Regions from separate parts of the Homo sapiens genome. Here regions 1, 2 and 3 are each linked to region 4. Evidence: promoter capture Hi-C in human tissues and cell types (Jung and others, 2019). All regions are on one chromosome and are shown on one strand. The core of a region is centred on a gene start or on the middle of the fragment in contact, and the rest is flanking DNA. Distances in the headings are between cores, read along the strand shown.

The links. The method cuts DNA at HindIII sites, captures the fragments that hold promoters and counts their contacts. A contact is called where the count stands out against the background at its distance.
Region 1: a contact is called between a fragment that was not itself captured here and the fragment with the promoter of FAM222A in region 4, in 1 of the 25 tissues and cell types used here (hippocampus).
Region 2: a fragment that was not itself captured here is called in contact with the fragment with the promoter of FAM222A in region 4 in 1 of the 25 tissues and cell types used here (IMR-90 fibroblasts).
Region 3: a fragment that was not itself captured here is called in contact with the fragment with the promoter of FAM222A in region 4 in 1 of the 25 tissues and cell types used here (thymus).

What each region holds. Positions count from the first base shown.
Region 1 is chr12:110,056,499-110,061,147 of GRCh38, reverse strand. It overlaps a transcript of C12orf76 not described here. Among named protein-coding and RNA genes, the nearest start is that of C12orf76, 10 kb to the right of the region's middle. The HindIII fragment of the contact is 4,989 bases long and covers 1-4,024 here.
Region 2 is chr12:109,432,139-109,437,578 of GRCh38, reverse strand. MYO1H (myosin IH) reads right to left here. Exons shown (of 32, transcript NM_001101421.4): 20 at 4,569-4,682; 21 at 2,466-2,542; 22 at 1,023-1,091. Among named protein-coding and RNA genes, the nearest start is that of KCTD10, 42 kb to the left of the region's middle. RefSeq lists an enhancer at 3,310-3,814. The HindIII fragment of the contact is 4,306 bases long and covers 495-4,800 here.
Region 3 is chr12:109,449,677-109,454,563 of GRCh38, reverse strand. KCTD10 (potassium channel tetramerization domain containing 10) reads left to right here. Exons shown (of 7, transcript NM_031954.5): 7 at 2,751-4,887. The coding sequence ends at 2,969. Among named protein-coding and RNA genes, the nearest start is that of KCTD10, 25 kb to the left of the region's middle. The HindIII fragment of the contact is 3,969 bases long and covers 1,244-4,887 here.
Region 4 is chr12:109,712,204-109,717,027 of GRCh38, reverse strand. FAM222A (family with sequence similarity 222 member A) reads right to left here and starts at 3,203. Exons shown (of 3, transcript NM_032829.3): 1 at 2,131-3,203. RefSeq lists silencers at 3,063-3,112, 3,143-3,472 and an enhancer at 4,178-4,741. The HindIII fragment of the contact is 9,746 bases long and covers 1-4,824 here.

The DNA.
Region 1 (4,649 bases), core at 281-2,780, 350 kb before region 4:
GAATAGGTGGTTGGATATATGAATCTGGAGCTGAGATGTAGGTTTCTTTTTTTTTTTTTTTTTTGAGTCAGAGTCTCTGGTCTCCCCCACAGAGCTGGCTCTGCATGAATTACTCTTCCTCTATTGCAATGAGCTAAGGGATATGAGGGCAGTTGTGCGATCTTAGCTCACTGCATCCTCCGCCTCCCGGGCTCAAGTGATTCTCCTGTCTCAGCCTCCTGAGTAGCTGGGATTACAGGTGCCCGCCACCACACCTGGCTAATTTTGTATTTTTAGTAGAGATTGGGTTTCACCATGTTGGGCAGGCTGGTCTTGAACTCCTGGCCTCAGGTGATCCGCCCACCTCAGCCTCCCAAAGTGCTGGGATTTCAGGCATGAACCACTGCGCCTGGCCTGAGATGTAGGTTTCTATATCACCAGCATATAGATGGGAACTAGAACCATGGAAGAAGCTGCAATTCACCAGCAAGAGAAGAAGTAGATGAGAAAGCAAGAGGGCCTAGAACCGACCCCGGAGAAGGGCTAACCTTTAAGGGGTGGGAGTGCTGAAGTCCCCAAAGGATTCTGAGAAGGAGTAGCCACAGAGATCCAATGAAAGTCAGGCAAAGGTGGATTCCTGCAAGCTAAGGGAAGGAGGTGAGGGAGGTGGGGCATGGTCACAGTGTCAACTGGTGCTGAGAGTTCCAGGAAGATCAGCTATGTGGTGTGTCTATTGGATTTAGTGACAATGACGTTGTTGTTTACTTGGCAAGAGAGGCTTTAGAGAAGGGATGGGGGTGGGAGCCAGACTGGAGTGGGCGGAGGAGTGAATGGAGATGCAGAAATGGATATGATGACTCACTCTTTCAGGGGACTTGGCTATGAAGAAGAGAGGCATGGAGTGGTGGTAAGAGAATGTGGGATTGAAGAGGGGGTATTTTGGAGACAGAGTTTCACTCTTGTTGCACAGGCTGGAGTGTAATGGGGTGATCTCGGCTCACCGCAACCTCCGCCTCTGGGGTTCAAGCTATTCTCCTGCCTCAGCTTTCTGAGTAGCTGGGAATACAGGCATGTGCCACCATGCCTGGCTAATTTTGTATTTTTAGTAGAGAAATGATGTTAAGTGCAGATGGAAAGGGGACAGGAGAGAAAGGGAAGTTGATGTGGTAAATGAAAATTATCTTCATCATCTTCCTCACCATCACCAGCAGTAACCACAAGGAAAGCTTGTTCTGCTCTGGGACTGCCCTGTCACTTTTCTTCCTGAGAAAATGAGCCAAAATCTTTCCCCCTGTAACTTTCACCTTTGCTTAGTTTTGCCTTGTGTCCCTCTTCAAATGGCTGCACACTGCTACTATGTCTCTCCTCTTCTTCAAACTCACAGCCTCCATCCTACAGGCCATGTGCTCTCAGCCTGGCGACCAGACCCTCAACTGTCTCAACCAAGTTCACACCGCTTGTTTGTCAAGCCCCTCTTAAGAGGCAGTGTACACACTCTTGCTTTGGTGATGGAAGCATGAAATGGTTCAAGCATTTATGATTTAGGAAAATAAACTCAGATAGAAAATGTGCACACCCTTTGACCCAGAAGTCCTGTATAGACTTAATGCCTTAGGTGTGTGAAGAAGCTTGTGCAGGGATTTCTGGCAACATGAATGTGGGGTGGACAGACAGTGAGCACAGTTGTTAGGAGCATAGCCTGAGTGCATTCTTCCTGAGATCAGGAACAGGACGAGGATGCCCGCTTTCACCGCTGCTGTTCAACATTGTACTGGAAGTTCTAGCCAGAGCAATTAGACAAGAAAAGCAATAAAAGGCATCCAGATGGCAAAGAATGAAGTAAAACTATCTTTAATCACAGATGGCACAATCCCATATATGGAGAATCCCGAAGAATTCACAAGAAAACTATTAGATAGAGCTAATTAACCAATTCAGTAAAGTCGCAAGGAACAAGATCAACACACAAAAATTAATTGTGTGTGTGCATTTTTTTTTACACCAGCAAGGAACATTTGAAAAGGAAATTGGAAAAATAATTCCATTTACCATAGCATTTAAGAGAGCTGAGGCTGTGGAGCCAGATGGCTGCGTTCAGAGCTGGCGCTGCTGTTTACCATGTGACCTTGGACAAGCTTCTCGCTTCATTCATACCACAGTTTGTTCGGCTATTAGGTGGAGGTAATACTAGCACCTTCCTTATAGAGTTGGTTTTTGTTTTCATTTTTTTGGTGGGGGGGAGTAAGAATTGCAAAAGTTAATATATGTCAGCAAAATAGACTTAGAAGAGTGGTTGGCACATGGTAAGGACATATTAGGGTTACCAAAAATTGTTTATAATTGGGAAAATTGAACAAAAGTTACAGTTAAATATCTATCCCAGAGACTGACTGGCAAATTATCACAATGTACCTCTTAGCTTGAGCCATATGGAACTGCCTGTATTCTATAGCTATGGCCTACAAAATGGGCAGTTCTTTCTTTCTTTTCTTTTTTTTGGAGAGAGAGTCTCACTCTGTTGCCCAGGCTGAAGTGCAGTGCAGTGGCATGATCTCGGCTCACTGCAACCTCCGCCTTCCAGGTTCAAGTGATTCTCCTGCCTCAGCCTCCCAAGTAGCTGGGATTACAAGCATGCACCACCACAACTGGATAATTTTTGCATTTTTAGTAGAGACAGGGTTTCCGCCATGTTGGCCAGCCTGGTCTTGAACTCCTGGCCTCAAGTGATCTGCCCGCCTTGGCCTCCCAAAGTGCTGGGATTACAGGCGTGAGGCACCATGACCTGCCAAAATGGGCAGTTTCATATATTCAATCACTAGGATACTCTTTAGCCACTGAAAATGATTGTGTATCATAGATCTATCTTTATCACAGATATCTTTACTGTCATAGAAAGAATTAATAACATATTATTGAGTAAAAATAGCAAGTTACAAAACAGCCTGCAGCCTGTAGTGTGGCCACGTTTGTAACATCAGTATATCTGTTTGTGTGTCTAGGTGTGGACATAAAGAGATATCTAGAAGACACTCAAAAGTTTCAACAATGATTGCCTGAGTGATTTGTGCTGGGATCTTCTTTTTTTTTTTTTTTTTTTTTTTTTGAGACCGAGTCTCTCTCTGTTGCTCAGGCTGGAGTTTGCAATGGCGTGATCTTGGCTCACTGCAATCCCCGCCTCATGGGTTCAAATGATTCTCCCACCTCAGCCTCCCGAGTAGCTGGGATTATAGGCGCCCACCACTGTGCCTGGCTAATTTTTGTATTTTTAGTAAAGACGGGGTTTTGCCATGTTGGGCAAGCTGGTCTCAAACTCCTGACCTCGAGTTATCCACCTGCCTTGGCCTCCCAAAGTGCTGGGATTACAGGCGTGAGTCACTGCGCCCAGCTGGGATCTTAATTTATATTTTTTCTTTTTAGCCCTTGATTTTTACCCTGTTAGACTGACTTTAGGAATCTAACCCCCAAAAGTGGAAAGGAATACATTAGTGTTGTTGAAAGCCACTAAGTTAGTGGTAATTTGTTACAGAAACTAATATAATTGGGATTTAACTTGCCTTGGGGGTGCTGGCTCTCCCCCATTTTCTTCTCAGAGCATCTCTTGGGTCCTCAACCCTTGCTGAGCCCCCACCATGGCCTAGAGGACCAGGGATGGACTTGATTAGATTCTCCTCTTGGGATTTTAAAAAAGAGAAGCAGAGGCTGCATGCTCAGCTTCTCCGTGCCGCACTGCAGGCACAGTGCCCGGCGCCACTGTTCTTTAGGGGTCCATGAAGATGTCTGTTGGCCCTGGGTTAGTCATGAGGTAAGGGATATGAGGGCAGTTCACTTTGGAGGCTCAGCCCTTTGGTGTTACTTTTGCTCTGGAACCTTAGGAGCTGTAAGGGGGAGAGGAACTTTGCTGAAAGGCACATCCTCCCTGCAGAGCTTGAAGAACAATCTAACCATGCTGGCATGGGGCCCATCCTACCTGCAATGCCAAGGTAAGTCTGCGAAAGTCACTTATATTCAGAGCATGTGGATTGGGACTCTGAAGAACAACTTTATGGTGGACACCTTCGTCTCCATCTGGTGAGTCCAGCACAAGCAGCCTGAGGGTTCCATGGGCTCAACCTCACCCTCCATCCTTATTTCCCTGCCACTCCAGGGCTCCTCCTCATCCAGACTTGCCTGTGAGTGCCCCTTGATGGATGTATTTGTCTGTTCTCATGCTGCTAATAAAGACATATTCGAGACTAGGTAATTTACAAAGAAAAGAGGTTTAATGGACTCACAGTTCCACATGGCTGGGAAGGCCTCACAATCATGGTGGAAAGTGAAAAGTACGTCTTACGTGGTGGCAGGCAACAAGTGACTAAGAGCCAAGCAAAAGGGGAAACCTCTTATAAAACCATCAGATCTCATAAGACTTAGTCACTATCTCCCACCAGGTCCCTCCTACAACATGTGGGAATTATGGGAGCTACAATTCAAGATGAGATTTGGGTGGGGACACAGCCAAACCATATCAATGGCCCTAACTTCTCTCCCATTAGCTCTCTTCTACCTCCCAGACTCTTTCCAGCTTTCCTCTTTTTCTTCTTCTTTTTAAGAGACTGGAGTCTTACTGTGTTGCCCAGGCTGGTCTTGAACTCCTGGGCTCAAGGAATCCTCCCACCTCCACCTAATGAGTA
Region 2 (5,440 bases), core at 1,398-3,897, 280 kb after region 4:
ATTATCTAAAGCTACTTTCCTGCTACCATGGCAGACTTGAGTTACTGCGATGGAGACCATAAGACTCCCAAGTCTAAAATACTTCCTATAATGCTGACCTCTGCTGCTATAGTGGAATACTATGTAGCTATCAGCAAATGAATAACTAAATCTATGCACATCTCCTGGTTGAATTTCAAAATCAATTTGGAGTGCAAAAATGTCACCCAAAATACCAAGAGTATAGTTAAGTTTAAAACATGCTAAATTATAAATATATTATTTAGAGATACACCCATAGATAGTGAAACTATTGAAGAAAAACAAGAGAATGATTAATGCAAAATTCAAGAGAGTGGTTACTCTCAAGAAATGTATGCGTGTGGGTGGGAGTGTTGTTTGAGAACATGACTGGGGAGGGACAAAAAAATGGAAGGGCTTCAAGGGTACTTGTATGTTTGAAACTTTTTCAAAAATTATTCTTTTATTTTTTTTGAGACAGGGTCTCACTTTGTCACCCAGGCTGGAGTGCAGTGGTTCCATCGTGGCTCACTGCAACCTCCACCTCCTGGGCTCAAACAGTCCTCCTGCATCAGCCCTCCAAGTAGCTGGGACTACAGGCATTAACCACCATGCCTAGCTAATTTTTGGGTGTTTTGTTTTGTTTTGTTTTGGTAGAGACAGGGTTTCACCATGCTGCCAAGGCTGGTCTTGAACTCTTGAGCTCAAGTAATCCACGCGCCTCAGCCTCCCAAAGTGCTAGGATTATAGGTATGAGCCACCGCGACTGGCCCACAAAATTATTCTTTAAATGTACACATATTGTAGGACTAATAAAACATGCCTGTGGAACACATACAGGCCACTATGTTATAATCTCCAATCAATAAGGTAAAAATGAGAAGAGGCCCCAGAACTGGACCCCAAGATAGCACCACACAAGGTTTTAAGGATGAGCAGGGGGAGAGAACTCACAAATGTGCCCCCAGGTGCCAAGCAGATGAGAAAGGGAGCAAACTTATTTGTTTCTATTTAATTCTTACCTGCTTGTCTTTTTTTCACGTATTCTCTCCTTCCTAGGCAGCGTTTGTAAGTGGCTTGGATTCTTGCAACTTAAAATAAAACAGACGTTTTGGTGAAATGGCTTTGCATTTGCGCATCTTTGTGGTTGTGATCTCCAGGGGTGTTTGGGGGCCGATGGAAGGGGGCATCAAAGTCCTGTGGTGTAGTGATGTTTCAGGAAGCTATTTCAGCACTGCAGACCTGAGAGCTGGCTGGTTACATGACGCCTGGCTCCCAGATGCTGCCCGGGAACTGGAGTTTCCTTCCTGCCTTTCCTTTTCCCAGGGCAAGGAACAGACCTAGTGCTACAAGCCCCCCAGTTCCATGTCAGGCATTAGATTTCATTCTCATACGCCACCCCACAAGGCAGGCATCATCAGCATGTTTTATAAATGGGCACGCAGGCTCAGACAGATGGTGAAGACGCTTGCCGGGCAACACAGCTAAGGAGGAGCATGAATCCAGGTCTGATCAGAGAACACTCTCCCTCGGCTTCTACATCCTGCATCCACCCCCTCCACACAGCAATTTAGGTCCTATCAGAGGCCAAGCTCATCAAGAGCCTTGCAGAGCAGCCACATCCTATTCCCCACGAGCTGGTTAGAGATGCTGGCTCAGGCCCCACTGGCCTAACTGTGGCCCTTCAACCAGATCCCCAGCCATTGGTGCCCACTGCTACGGAGGTCAGAAAATGAGACCACCAAGCCTTGAAGCCAGACAGACCCAGGTTCAAACCGCAGCTAGGCTGCTTACTTGCTGTGTAGCCTTCAACAAGTTACCAACACCTCCGTGCCTCAGTTTCCCTGCATAGAAAGCGGAGACGATAGCACCTATGTCACCTCCCTTACAGGTCTGTTCTCAGAACAGAATGAGACCATGGTTTAAAGGACTTAGTGTTCACCTGGCGCACAGCAGGCCCTCAAATGACTCAAGCGTAGTTCTTGACAGACCGGTTACATTTCAAAAGAGACGCTCCCTCCCCCCGCAGTTTTGATTTTTTACTTTTTGCATTTCCCCATCTAACTTTTCTCATTGACCATTCCCAGCAAACACCCAGGCTGCAGGCTTTGAAGCTAAACTTTCCAACATCAGACACGCAGACAAGTGAAGTTTTGTAAACTTTAATTTCAAGGGGCTGGTCTCTCACGGTTTTACACCCTAGTAGTGAACAACAGAATCTGATCCAAACGAGAACTGAAACGGCGGAACAATGTTTATATATCTGCCTGCATCTGTGACTGACCTCCAAGCAGTCATTAAAGCAGAAATTCACAGGGATCTTATCATAATCCCATATCTCGTTCCTAGTTTCCAAAGCGAATGCTTCTAACACTATATCAAACACCCGTGTTTAAGATTTACCCCCAAGCTCCACTTGTTCATTTCATATTCTATTGAAATCGGGACAGAAAAAGAAATCATACCTAGTTGATGTTTACTAAATTCAAAGGCATCTTCGGTAGCAAACAGAGTTCTGGGGAAACGAATGAATATTTTGGTTCTAGAAGTGAAAAGAAATGTTTTTGTTATTAATTGGTCAGTTTACCATCTAGTGGGTTGAACGGTGCCCCCTTCAAAAATTCATTTCCACTCAGAACCTCAGAATACCATCTTATTTGGAAATAGTGTTTGCAGATGTGATTGAGGTAAGGATAGAAATGAGCTCATCCTGGAATAGGGTGGGCCCTAAATCCATTGAGAGTGTCTCTATACACACAGAAAGACACAGGGAGGAGCCCACGTGAGGACGGAGGCAGAGATTGGAGGGACACGGCTACAGCTAAGCAATGCCAGGAGCCACCAGAGCTAAAAGAGGCTCCCGCAGGAATGTGGCCCTGCCAACTCTTGATTTTTGGATTTCTGGCCTCCACAACTAGGAGAGAATAGATTTGTTTTAAATCAGCCACTTTGTGATCATCTGTTACGCAGTCCTAGGAAATGAATAAACCAACGTAACCTGAAGTTGCTTCAAGTTATGTTGCTAGGCTTTAAAGAGTGACGACAAAGAATATGGGTGTTTTTGTTTGTTTTTTGTTTTTGTTTTGAAACAGAGTCTCAGTTTGTTGCCCAGGCTGGAGTGCAGTGGTGCAATCTCGGCTCACTGCAACCCCCATCTCCCAGGTTCAAATGATTCTCGTGCCTCAGACTCCCGAGTAGCTGGGATTACAGGCACCAGCCACCACGCCCAGCCAGACAAATAATGTGGATCTAAGCTTAAAAGAAGATCACGCTGGGCGCGGTGGCTCACGCCTGCAATCCCAGCACTTTGGGAGGCCGAGGCAGGTGAATCACCTGAGGTCAGGAGTTTGAGACCAGCCTGACAAACGCGGTGAAACCCTGTCTCTACTAAAAATACAAAAATTAGCCCATTGTGGTAGTGTGCACCTGTAATCCCAGCTACTCGAGAGGCTAAGGCAGGAGAATCGCTTGAACCCAGGAAGCGGAGGTTACAGTGAGCCGAGATCATGCCACTGCAGCCTGGGTGACAGAGCAAGACTCTGTCTCAAAAAATAAAAAAATAAAAAGAAGATCACAGTAGCCAGCAGAGAGAAGTTACAAATACTGACCTCACATTGCCTGCCCGACCCCAGGCCTGGTGAGGGAAAGTTCCCAGGGCAGCCACTGGGGACAGCAGTGGGTGGTGCCTGGTGATCCCACTCTCCCTTGTCCCTGTTTCAATTTATGGAACAGGGGACAGACGGATCCCACCTCTGACCTCCATGCCCTGCCTCCCTCAGGATGTGCTGAGCCTTGCAGAATCCCCTTGGAGATCTGGACTGACTAAGTAACTGATCCTTGGAACAGGCCCAGAATAGGAGTCTACAGATGGAGAGAGGCCAAGGCGGCCCAGACGACCATGTACAAGTGGGAGTTAGGAGTCAGCAGGGAAAGCCCATGAACAGGATCACAGGCAGAGCTCTCTGGAGTGGGGAAGCCCTGCTGTCGGGGAATAGATCTTCATGCTGAGACACCTTTCCCTGCAACCTCATTAACCCTGACCAAAATGACGCACAAGACGGACTCGGATCTTCCCGATTCATGTCCCTTGAGTTGTGCCTGAAAGCTTTCAATGTGTACGAAAGTCTCTGCTCATGGATAACTACAACTCTACAGTTAAGAGTTCCAGCACACCATTTCTGAGATGCTACAGATGATCTCACATTGTCTAGGTCCCAGTAGCTCCTCTGGCAGGTCATGCGTACATGGGAACAGTGAAAGAATCCAGGCACACGGACGTTAGGTGCCCCCTCTGGTTCCCTCTTTGTTTTGCTAGCAAGGAGGCCCATCTGCTAAATCAGTTTAGTGCGGAAGTTTCCTTTATAACTTCATTTCCTCCCACCGGCAGCACCATAGCTCTTCTAAAGAATTAAGAGCTGCATTTACATCGAGTAGATGAAGCATAAATCTCGCAAATCTCCATAAATCCCTAGGAATCGAGTCTCCAGGCTCTAGATGGATACGGATCAATGCACAAAACCCTTTGATGTCAAGGGAAGAGACCATTTGGTGGTCTTCTGGTCACTTACTTGCCTAACTTGTATTCCTCGGGTTTGTAGCCGATGTACTTGATCAGCCGTTCCACGCCCTCTGCTGGAGGCCCGTGCCAGTGCGGCCAGGTGTCTGGGCATAAGGACTTGTACCTAGGAGAGGAGATGGACATGGAGAAGCTGTGACCGTACCTTCCTCTAGCCCTCCCCCACATCCCCGGCCCCAGAGGCCTGCTGAGCACTGCTGTGGCATGTCGGCCACTCAGTGTATGTAGTAGTCCCATTACACGAACTTTCTCGAATTCAAAGATGGGTACTTTGCAAGAAAGAAAGGAGAGAGAAACTGTTTCAATATAGTAGGGAGTTTGACCTGTCTTTGTAGAACAATGACATCATCAGACGCTCAACCCAGTGACTCAATTCCACTCCTAGGTATCTGTCCAAGAGAAATGAAAAGGTGTCCGAACATTCATACCTGAATGTTCATAGCAGCCATTGGGTGTAGCAGTGCATGGTGCTATGATTCATAATAGCCAAAAGGTGGAAACAACCCAGATGTCCATCGACAGAAAACTGAACAGACAAACAAACATAGTCTAGTACCAGAAGAAAAAGTTCTATGCTTGAGACCGGGTATGGTGCCTCATGCCTGTGATCCCAGCAATTTGGGAGGCCAAGGCAGGAGGATCACTTGAGGCCAGGCATTTGAGACCAGCCTGGGCAGACCCCGTCTCTACTTAAAAAAAGGCCAGGCGCAGGGGCTCAAGCCTGTAATCCCAGCACTTTGGGAGGCCGAGGCGGGCGGATCACAAGGTCAAGAGATCGAGACCATCCTGGCTAACATGGTGAAACCCTGTCTCTACTAAAAATACAAAACAAAATTAGCCAGGCATGGTGGCGGGCACCTGTAG
Region 3 (4,887 bases), core at 1,979-4,478, 260 kb after region 4:
AGGGACTGGCTTTCACTATGTTGCCCAGGCTGGTCTCGACCTCCTGGCCTCAAGTGGTCCTTCTACCTTGGCCTCCCAAAGTGTTGGGATTACAGGCATGAGCCACTGCACCCAGCCCATATCACTCTCCTCTCCTGTCTCATCTCCACTCTGTTATTGAGCCCTGCTGGTAAGTTGTGTTTTTGTTTGAGGTTGTTGGTTATTGTATTTGTCAGTTCTCAAGTGCTCATTTGGTTTTTCTGTCTCCTTGCTGAGACTCCCTATGTTTCCATTTGCTCTAAGAGCATTGGCCCTTACTTACTGGAACAGGTTAATAATAGCTGCTGCCAGGTCTTTGTCAGGTAATTCCAAAACCTTGTGTCACCTTGGCGCTAGCATCTGTGAGTTATTTCCCACAGGAGTTGAGAATTTCTTGGTTCTTGTGTATTGAGAAATTTTGATTGTATCCTAAACATTTTGAATATTGTTAAAGGACTCCAGGCCTTGTTTAAATCCTAGGGAGAACATTGATGTTTTTGTTTTAGCAGGCAATTGACCCAGTTGGGCTCAGGCTGCAAGCTCTAACCAGCCTTCTGTAGTTTGTAGTTGCGGTGACAGTTTGATTTTCAAAGCCTTCAAATCTGTCCTAGCTGTGTGCCATGCTGTGGCCCGTCTGTCCTGGGCAGTATCTCTTGCAGCATTCAGTTCTTTCAGTCTGCGTATGCAGTTTAGGGGTAGATCTTGCAGCTGGGTGTGGGTCTAGGAGTTCATATACAACTTCACAGGCTGCTTTCTCAAGCTCCTCTTCTCCGCAGTTCTCTAAGCTTCCCTGGAGTCCCCTTCTCTGATCGGCCAGCCAGAAAGCTGGGGGTTTGGTTATTCCCCCTTTGCCACCCACTTTCTGTAACCATGCCTGTATTTTGGGCCCAGGAGCATGAAGATAGAAAAAGCAACCAGATTCTCCCAATCCTGCTGAGACCACAGCTCTTCTCATCAGAAAAGAAGGTTCCTTCCCTCAGAGTTTTGACTCCTGCAGTCTCTGGTTGCTGCCACAGGAATGCTCAGGTCTGGGTGCAAGAAAATAAAGAAAAGGACTGAGCATGGTGGCTCACACCTGTAATCCCGCACTTTGGGAGGCCAAAGCAGAAGGATTGCTTGAGTCCAGGAGTTTAAGACCAGCCTGGGCAACATAGCAACACCCCTGTCTCTACCAAAAATTTTTTAAAAAATAGCTGGGCATGGTGGTGTGTGCCTGTAGTCTAAACTACTTGGGAGGCTGAGGTGGGAGAATCATTTAAGCCCAGTAGTTCAAGACCAGCCTGGGCAACATAGCAACACACTCATCTCTACAAAAAGTTAGTTGGGCATGGTGATGCATGCCTATAGTCTCAACTACTTGGGGAGGCTGAGGTGGGAGAATCATTTGAGCCTAGGCGTTCAAGGCTGCAGTGAGCTATGATTGTGCCACTGCACTCCAGCCTGGGTGACAGAGCAACACTCCCTCTCAAAACAAAAAAGAGAAAAGAAAGAGGCCCTTGGACTCCCGTCCTGGCTCTGCCCCTAACCAGCTTCACAAACACAAGAACACGCCACTCCTGAACCTGGTCTGTGAATCAAGAAACAGTTGGGATCAGACCATGTGGTCTCTAAATCCCCTTGCTCCTTATTAAGCTCTAAAAATGAGAAGTCTTAAAATTTTAAAGCTTAATTAGCCAGATCCCATATCTTTTAAAAAAAAAGGAAAGAAAACCAGGATTTCCTCCCAGCCTCTCTGCCTGTTAGACTCTGTTGGCCTCCCTGGCCACTAGAGACCTTCTGGAGGTCTTCTGTCCTGGTGCCATTTCAGGGTTTCAGGCTGCATCAGTGCTGGCAGCAGCAAACAGTAAACTCACTGTTGGGCATTACTCCAAATTCTGTTGTTTCCCCCATCTGCCTGCCATGATTTACTTCTGAGTCCACAGTTAGCTGCTGTGTGCATCCCATTCTGGCTTTGTAGTGTCAGTGAGGAAGACGGGGTAGAGTGTGCCTGCTCCATTTTTCCCAGAACCTCCGAATTCCACCCTGAAAGTGGAGTCTAGTCTGATCAAATGTGTGGGACCTGCTTATGTGGCCCTCTTCCTGTTCATCACACCTTAACCCTGAAGGGCAATGAGCAAACACAATGATTTGCCAAACAGCAGAAGGGCTCATGCCCATTTCGTGGGAGTCCCCAGCTGGACCCTGTACAAAAAACTGCTTTAGAGACTGCTTTAAGGTGTGGAAGGACTTCTGTGCAAGGTTGCAGCTCTGTTAGGAGAAGCATATTAGCACTGACCTAAATGGCCATCCAAGTATGGTTAATTGCATTGTCGTATTTATAATTCCTTGATACAGAATGATCTCTAGGTTAAGTTAGGCACAAGAGGAAGACATGTACAACTCTGTGTGGTGGGCCACCTTGTGTGTTTTTTGAAGTGTGTGAATAAATATGTGTATTACACATATTTACATGCACAGAATCTTTGAGAGGGTAAAATGATGAGAAACTGTACCTTTAAGAAGGGAAACTAGGGGCAGGGAGACCTGTTTCTCTGCATCCCCTTGATTTTCTGTGCATTTAGCACCACATGTAAGTGTTGCCATTGAAAATATCAGTTTATTTAAAAATAATACTGGTGGCCTTCAGCAGAATCCCAGGGGCCTGATTTAGCCTGGCGGCCCTGCTTAAAGTCCAGGTGTTGGCAGAGGGGGTGGGCCATAACTTACCTGCCCTGTATACTGTGGGAACACAGGTGGAGTTTCCCGAAGCCCGGATTTATGAGGAGACCCTGAACATTTTGCTGTATGAGGCCCAGGATGGCCGGGGACCTGACAATGCGCTCCTGGAGGCCACAGGCGGGGCGGCGGGGCGCTCCCACCACCTGGACGAGGACGAGGAGCGGGAGCGGATCGAGCGCGTGCGGAGGATCCACATCAAGCGCCCTGATGACCGGGCCCACCTCCACCAGTGAGCAGGCAAGAGACCGAGCCGCCCTCCTCTCACCGCCCCCACTCCCTGCCGTGCTACACCCAGATCCTGTGCAGGCTGCCGGGCCCCTTCTGCTTCCCTTGGAGCCTGGAGATACTTTTGTAACAAGCCAGATGATTATTTTGGTATTGCTTGACAAGGCAAATTGATTGTCTTGACCCAGGCGTATGACCCCTGTCGTTGAACAAGCTGTGTCTAAGATCTCTACTTTTCATGAGAATCTGAGACTCTTTGGAGCCAGGCTTTCTCGGTTCTCAGAGGAAAAGTATGAATGAGTGTGAAGTGTATGTGAGAACTTTTGTTTGCAATATTTATTTTTGTGGGTGTCGACTTCCTATGTGGGCTTTTTGGGTGACACTCCCTTAAGGGTTCAGTTTGACAATTCTGAGAGTTGTCCTGCAGTTGGAGGCCACCAGAGGTATCTGAGCTCCCTGCTTCCTATTTCATAATCCTCCAGCCCCAGCAGGTCCACTCCTGGTTCCTGTGTGTTTGGCCCGGGCACAATCCCCACTGCTTTGCTAGACGTGCTTTCTGCCATGTGGCTTTGGGCCTAGAGCTTGTTGATAATTGCAGCTTGTGGCAGTGGAAATATGGCTGAATGAGCGTCTAAATCGTTGAGACCAGTGCAACTTTGGGTGCAAGGCTTTGTTTAGGGATCAAGCCTTTTGCCACCTTGGGCTGGTCTTTGGCCTGGTGCTCACTGGGACCCCATATGTCTGCGTAGGAGCAGAACTTTCCATGGCAGTAAGTGTCCAGCTCTGTTTCTGGTTCTTTCCCCAACTCCAGCCCCGTCCAGTTGTTCTCCTGATTGACCCGACTCCACTCCAGGAAGGCCATCTGACCCTGTGACAGGCATAGCTCATAAACTACCCCTCCCTGGGATCCCGCTCCTCTTCAGCCTCCTTCCCCATGAAGCTGGGCTAACTTTCTAAGTCATTTTGCTTAGAAATTCAGTGTGGCCCATACCCTTTGTCCTCCCAGCCTGGCATCCAGGCAGGGACACCCTCACACCACCAGCCCCAGGGAGCTTCCCTGCTATAAACACAGACCCCCTTGTCTTTGCCTCTGATTTTTACACAGTGTAGAGTGGCCAGCAGTGAACAGGTTGAGGATGTGCGGGTAGATAGATAACTTTGGGTCTGGTTTGTGTCTGTGTTCATGTTTGTTTAAGGGATATGTGTGACTGTGGGTGGGGACGTGTGCTTGTGGGGCACAGGTGGCGGCCCCTGCTGGAGCCCGGCTGGGCGCAGCGCCTATGTAGGACGGGTGTTCTCAGTGACCTACCTCCCAGGCTCCTCTGCACCTGCAAAGGAACAGGAGTGAGTCGTGACTGACAGGGGTGGTTGAGACTAGACTAGGTAGAGTAGTTACCAGGAGATGTGAATGTGCGTCAGGTGATGGATGGGTTTGTCAAGGGAATCGTTACCGTTTTATACCAAAGGTATTAACATGGGCAGCCTTTGACACATGTATTCCAAAAACGAGTTTATATTTTCAAACGGTTTTTACAGCTTAGACTTTGTACTTACTGCCCTGCCTGTGACAGTTGTATGCCTTCATTTTGTATCCAACAGCAAAGTCTACAATAAAACTTTAAAACAATCATGACTGAATGTCAAAATCGTGTATTGGGCAGATGCTTTTTAAACTGTCGTGTGAGAAACTTTTATATTAGGCCATTTGGATTTTATTAAGTGCTAAGGAAAGAGGGCTTACAAAATGTTTCGTAAATATTTTATACTGTTTAAGTGTTAAACACCAACCCTGTCTTTCTTTTGGGTTGAGCTTTTTTAGAAAGTCGAAGTGAATGTTGGCCAGGAAAATGGAAAAGCCATTGTATAAATTTTTTTTTGAGGCGGAGTCTTGCTCTATTGGCCAGGCTGGAGTGTAGTGGCACCATC
Region 4 (4,824 bases), core at 1,954-4,453:
GGAGCCAGGAGGGCAATTCAGGACCGAACCTCTGCAGCTGCCTGGCTGATCACCTGTAGCCCATCACTTCCTCTGTTTAAGCCTCAGTTTCATTAGCTATAAAATGGGCCACAGCGTATGAGCCACTCCAAGGAGTAACTGAGATCATGTAAAACGCCTGGCATATAGGGAGATGCTGAGAAAGCTGGCACTCCCTCCTGCTCATCGTCTGGCACGCTGAGTGCCAAGCCCAGGGAGATGAGGGAAGGGAACAGAAGGAATTGCCCAATTCTGACAGCCTTTCCCTCTGCCTTGGCTGTGGAAGTGTAAATACTCGGCAGAGGGCCTCCAACTGCCTGTGTTTGTGAATCTCTGGCGCGCACTCCGAGTTTGTTTCTAAACTGGGAAGCTTCGAGAGGCAGCGCAAACAGCCCTTCTGCCCACCTCTCCCGGCTCTCCCCCAATCTGCTGTTGCTCCTCTGTCCTTGGAAGCTTGTGTGTTTAACGACACCATTTCAGCTGGAAATACCATCTCCCTGCCAAGCCCCCAAAAGCAGCTCCACCGATATTTATTGACCTGTTAATCTAGCTAGAGAGCTTGGTAGAAGAGCAGGGAAAATGCTCGCTGCATAGACTGGGGCCTGGCTTCTCCTAATGACCCGAACACACACTTTCTCTGCTCTTACCCCGCCCCACGCTGCTGAGGCAATGACAGTTTTCGAACCTTTTCCTAGAAATGTGATCACAGCAGTTTCACCAGCACCCGACACTGGCAATAATTGCTGGAAGGGACCTAGACGAATCCCAGAGCCAGCAGCAGGATGCTTGCTGGGGGTTCTCTGGGCCTTTGCAGGGAAGCGTGCCAGTACTGGGGTGTGTGTTGGTTGGGGGTGCCCTGACAGAGACACAGTTTATTCAGACCTTGGCACTGATGGGCCTCACTTGCCCGCCATTCACTTAAGCAGCCTCACAATATGCTCGTTGAAATCCTCTTAAACACCAGAAGGAGCAGGGGGCAATCAGGAGTTCCAGGTTGGCCAAGGCCCCTGACCTTGGGGTAGAACAGCATGGGGAGCCCCTGGACTAGGGGTGCAGCAGGCAGCAGCTCCTCTGCACCTTCCTTGGCTGGGGGAGGGGCACCCACATTTTCCCCAGCAGAAGTAGCCTATTGGAGGGCCGGAGGCCCACATCTCTCTGGGGACCCTGGGAACTTCAGCCTGCCAGCTGGGTACATGGTGGGGTTCAGGGAGGTCTCTTCTATAGCATCTCTTTTCAAAACAGAAAGTTGCTCTGTCTGGGAGGCCTGAGCCCCGAGGCACAGGCCAGGCTACATGGGCAAAGCTCTGAACACCTGTCCTTGCGGGGAGGAGCATCAACAGGGACAGCTGGCACTGCCTCCCTCCCCCACCTTATGGGGCGCTAAGGATTTAGGTCAGAGGACTGCAATGGTAGGGGTGGGGGGAGTCCGCCTTCACCCCTCCACTACCCAAAGGCATCCAGCCCCGCCCCTTGTTACCACGACCCCGCCCCCTCCGGCCTTGGGTCAAGGCAAGTGGTGTTGCCACGGCAACCCCAGTGACATCAGAGGCTAAGGTTTGACGTCATGTCGTGCCCCCACTGGGGAACCTACCGTCCCTGCGAGTTATTTGTGGGAACGTGGTTTGAACGAGGGCTCTAAGGTCTAGCCCCATGGGGCACAATTCTCAAACGTGGCCACCTGCGTTTCTGGAACCCCAAATCCCCCTCTGAGGTGATTTCCCTTGAAGATCTCAGAGGCTGCTCGGGAGACCCTCAACGTTTTCCCATCCTGGGTGCCCCCCACCCCCCAGCCCTTCCAAGACACTGGAGTTCCCGGGGAATTTTCGGATGACACAGCCAATACCTTTGTTAGCTTTACGGGTGGGGTGACCTTTCCTCTCTGGCAACCAACCCGCCCAGGGTCCCGCGGAATCCGAATGGGCCCCCCAACCTCCACTCCCATCGGCTGGCCCATCTGAACAAGTTGTGTTTGGAGGGAGGAAAGGGGCGGACAAGGGTTATCTCTGCTTCAGGACCCCCAACAGCCTAGGACCCCTTCTGTCCAATCCTGGCTGCCCGGACGCCAGGGGGTGCCCCCAGCTCCAGCGCAGAACCCCGCCCCGCACAACTCACCGGATCAGCCAGGCCGTCGAAGGGCACCAGGTCTCAGCTACCACGACGCTCCGCTCGACGGGTCGCAGCCATGCAGGAGTGGCAGAGGCTGCCTGACGAAGCCCTCCTTGGGGGTCGATGCCTCTCTCCGGGTGGGAAGGGGCGCTGTCGGTGAGGGCTATCCTGGCGCCGGCCTGCGCCGTCCGAAGTCGGGGGGGAGGGGAGGTCTCCGTTCAGCAGGGGTCACGCCCGCCCCGGACGGGGGCCGCGCGGGCGCTCAGGCGACGCATCTTCGCCGGGGCCCGTGATCGCCACGTCCGGCGGGCGGCGCTGCGCCTCCCCTCGGGGCCCCGCTCAAGGCTGCAGCTCGGCCCGCGCCGCTCCCAGGGCGCCCTCTCCGCCCGCGCTGGGAGCCCGGCGGCCGCGGCCCCTTTCGCCAGCCCCAGCTGCAGCCTGTCTTTGTTGCTTCCTCTCGCTCGCCCGCCCGCCCGCGGCTTGCAGCCCCCGGGTTCGCCCCGAGGTGGAGGGATTGTCTCCTTCGGGGGTTGCACGCACCCGCAGCGGCCCCGGCTCCTCGCCGGACATACACCGGCCCCTGCAGGTTGCAAAGAACAGCGGCGAGAATGCACCGGCCCCTCCTCCTCCTGCTCTGAGCCCCGGGTGTGGGGGGAGGGGAAGCCGGCGAACAGCGGCGGCGGCAGCGGCGGCGGCGGCGGCAGCGGGCGACGCAAGCTCGGATGCAGCCTCGGGGGCCTCGGCGCTGAGAAACAGCCGATCCCAGTGGCGCAGGACGGACACGAGGACGGCCCGGGGGACTGTGCACCGGGTGTGCGAGCTCGCAAGCCGCAGCAGGGGCCGCGCGCGCTGGGCTCTCACGCGCCCATGGCCCCGGGCGGCGCGCGGGGGCTCCCGGGGCCGCAGCCTCGCGCCGTCTGGCGCGCGCCGGCGCCTCGCCTGGTCTCAGGCCCGGGTGCCGCGCGCCGCGCCCCACAGGCGCCGGGCCCGGCTGTCCGCCTCCCCCGGCCGGCGCGCGCAGCCTCTCCGCGGAGCAGCCGGCCAGGCAGTCCTGCCCGCTGCTCCGCTCTGGCCCGACTGACAGGCGCGAGCGCCGGCAGCAGCCCCCGCGTCTCGTCCCCCGCCCGCCCCCCGCGGCCCAGCCCAATCAGCGGCGGCTGAGAGGCGGTTACCAGGGTGACGCGGCACCGCGTCCTGCGAGGGGCGGAGCCGGGGGCCGCCACGCGCGCTTTTCGCGGCAAAATTCAAAGGCCGGCAGGGCGGCTCTCCAACCTCCTCCCCCAAGCAGGGACGAGGCGGAACTTGCCTCGCGAGGACTGCAACTCCCGGCATGCTGCGCGCCGGCGCCGGGTGGAGGGGCCCCGACTGGGGGCGCAGGGCGTGCTGGTTTTTGTAGTCCCACTAGGGGTGGCAAAACCAGTGTCATTTACTGATCACATATTTGGGACAAGGCACTGTATAAGTGCATTATCGGCATTATTTCATTTAATCTTGGCAAAAACCAACCTCATGAGGAATTTGTTAAAAATAACAACTATAGCTAACACTTATGTAGCAAAGTATTTTATCTAATCCTCACAACACCGTGTGAGTGGGTATTACTATCACCCCCATTTTACAGATGAGAAAACTGATACGGTAGGTACTATTATTATACTTCCAACTTACAGAGGAAACTGAGGTAAGGAGATGTGAAGTGACATGGTCCTGGATGTTTTTGTCCTAAGGCTTATTTTTGGCAGCGATGTGTTTTTGGCATCACAGTTGTGATCTGTGGAGCGCTAACTATATAACCCAGCACAGCGCTGAGCAATTTGCAAGCTACACCTTCTAGACGTACCCCACGCCCACAGGAGACAGGCACTAGCCTACTCCCCCACTTAATAGATAGGGAAACTGAGGCATAGTTTCACATCAACCTGGGGTTCAAATATGAATCTATCAAACTATACTGTGCTTTCCCTTTTACTTTTAAAGAAGCTTCCTGGGTTCTCACAGCCCATGGGCGGCCCGTCTAGCAGTCTCATTTACAGATGGGGAAATTGAGTCCTGGGTGGGGCAGTTCCCTCAGTTGCTGTGTGTCCATCACACAGCACTGTAGGAAGCCAGCTTTCCGGGATAATAACAAAGATCCCCACAGAAATGCAGAGCAGCAGTCAGACCCCCCACCCCTCAGGCTATGCCCGTGTGATACCTGGAGTCCCACCGAAACTGGGTGGGATTGCAGCCCTGCCCTTGCTGGTTGTTGGTCTTGGCCATTTACCTTCACGGGTCTGCGCCTCAGTTTCTTGTCTGTGAAATGGGGGGCATCATAATTCCTACCTTACAGCGTAGATTTGAGGGCAAAATGAATTCTTGCATGTAAAGGACTCAAAACACACATTAAGTGCTCAATAAATGCCCTCTGTACTCACCCGGGCTGGAGGGCTTTGGAGACCCTGGGGAGCGTATCCAGCGGACGGGCTGATTATAGACGGGCCCTAGCCTACTTCCAGGAGCCAACCCACCCCGCCGGGAGAGGCGCCCGCGGCGGACCTCCAGGGCCGGCCCAAGTGGGTCACCCGCCGCCTTATCTAGGACAGGAGCTGGCCCTGTTTCAGGCCTCTAAGCGGCTGCTCGGCGCGCTGTTCCCAGCAGCTCCGCTCTATTTCTCCGCGGCCGCCCCCATCTCCTCCCCTTCCCTCCCCAGGCTGAAGGTGG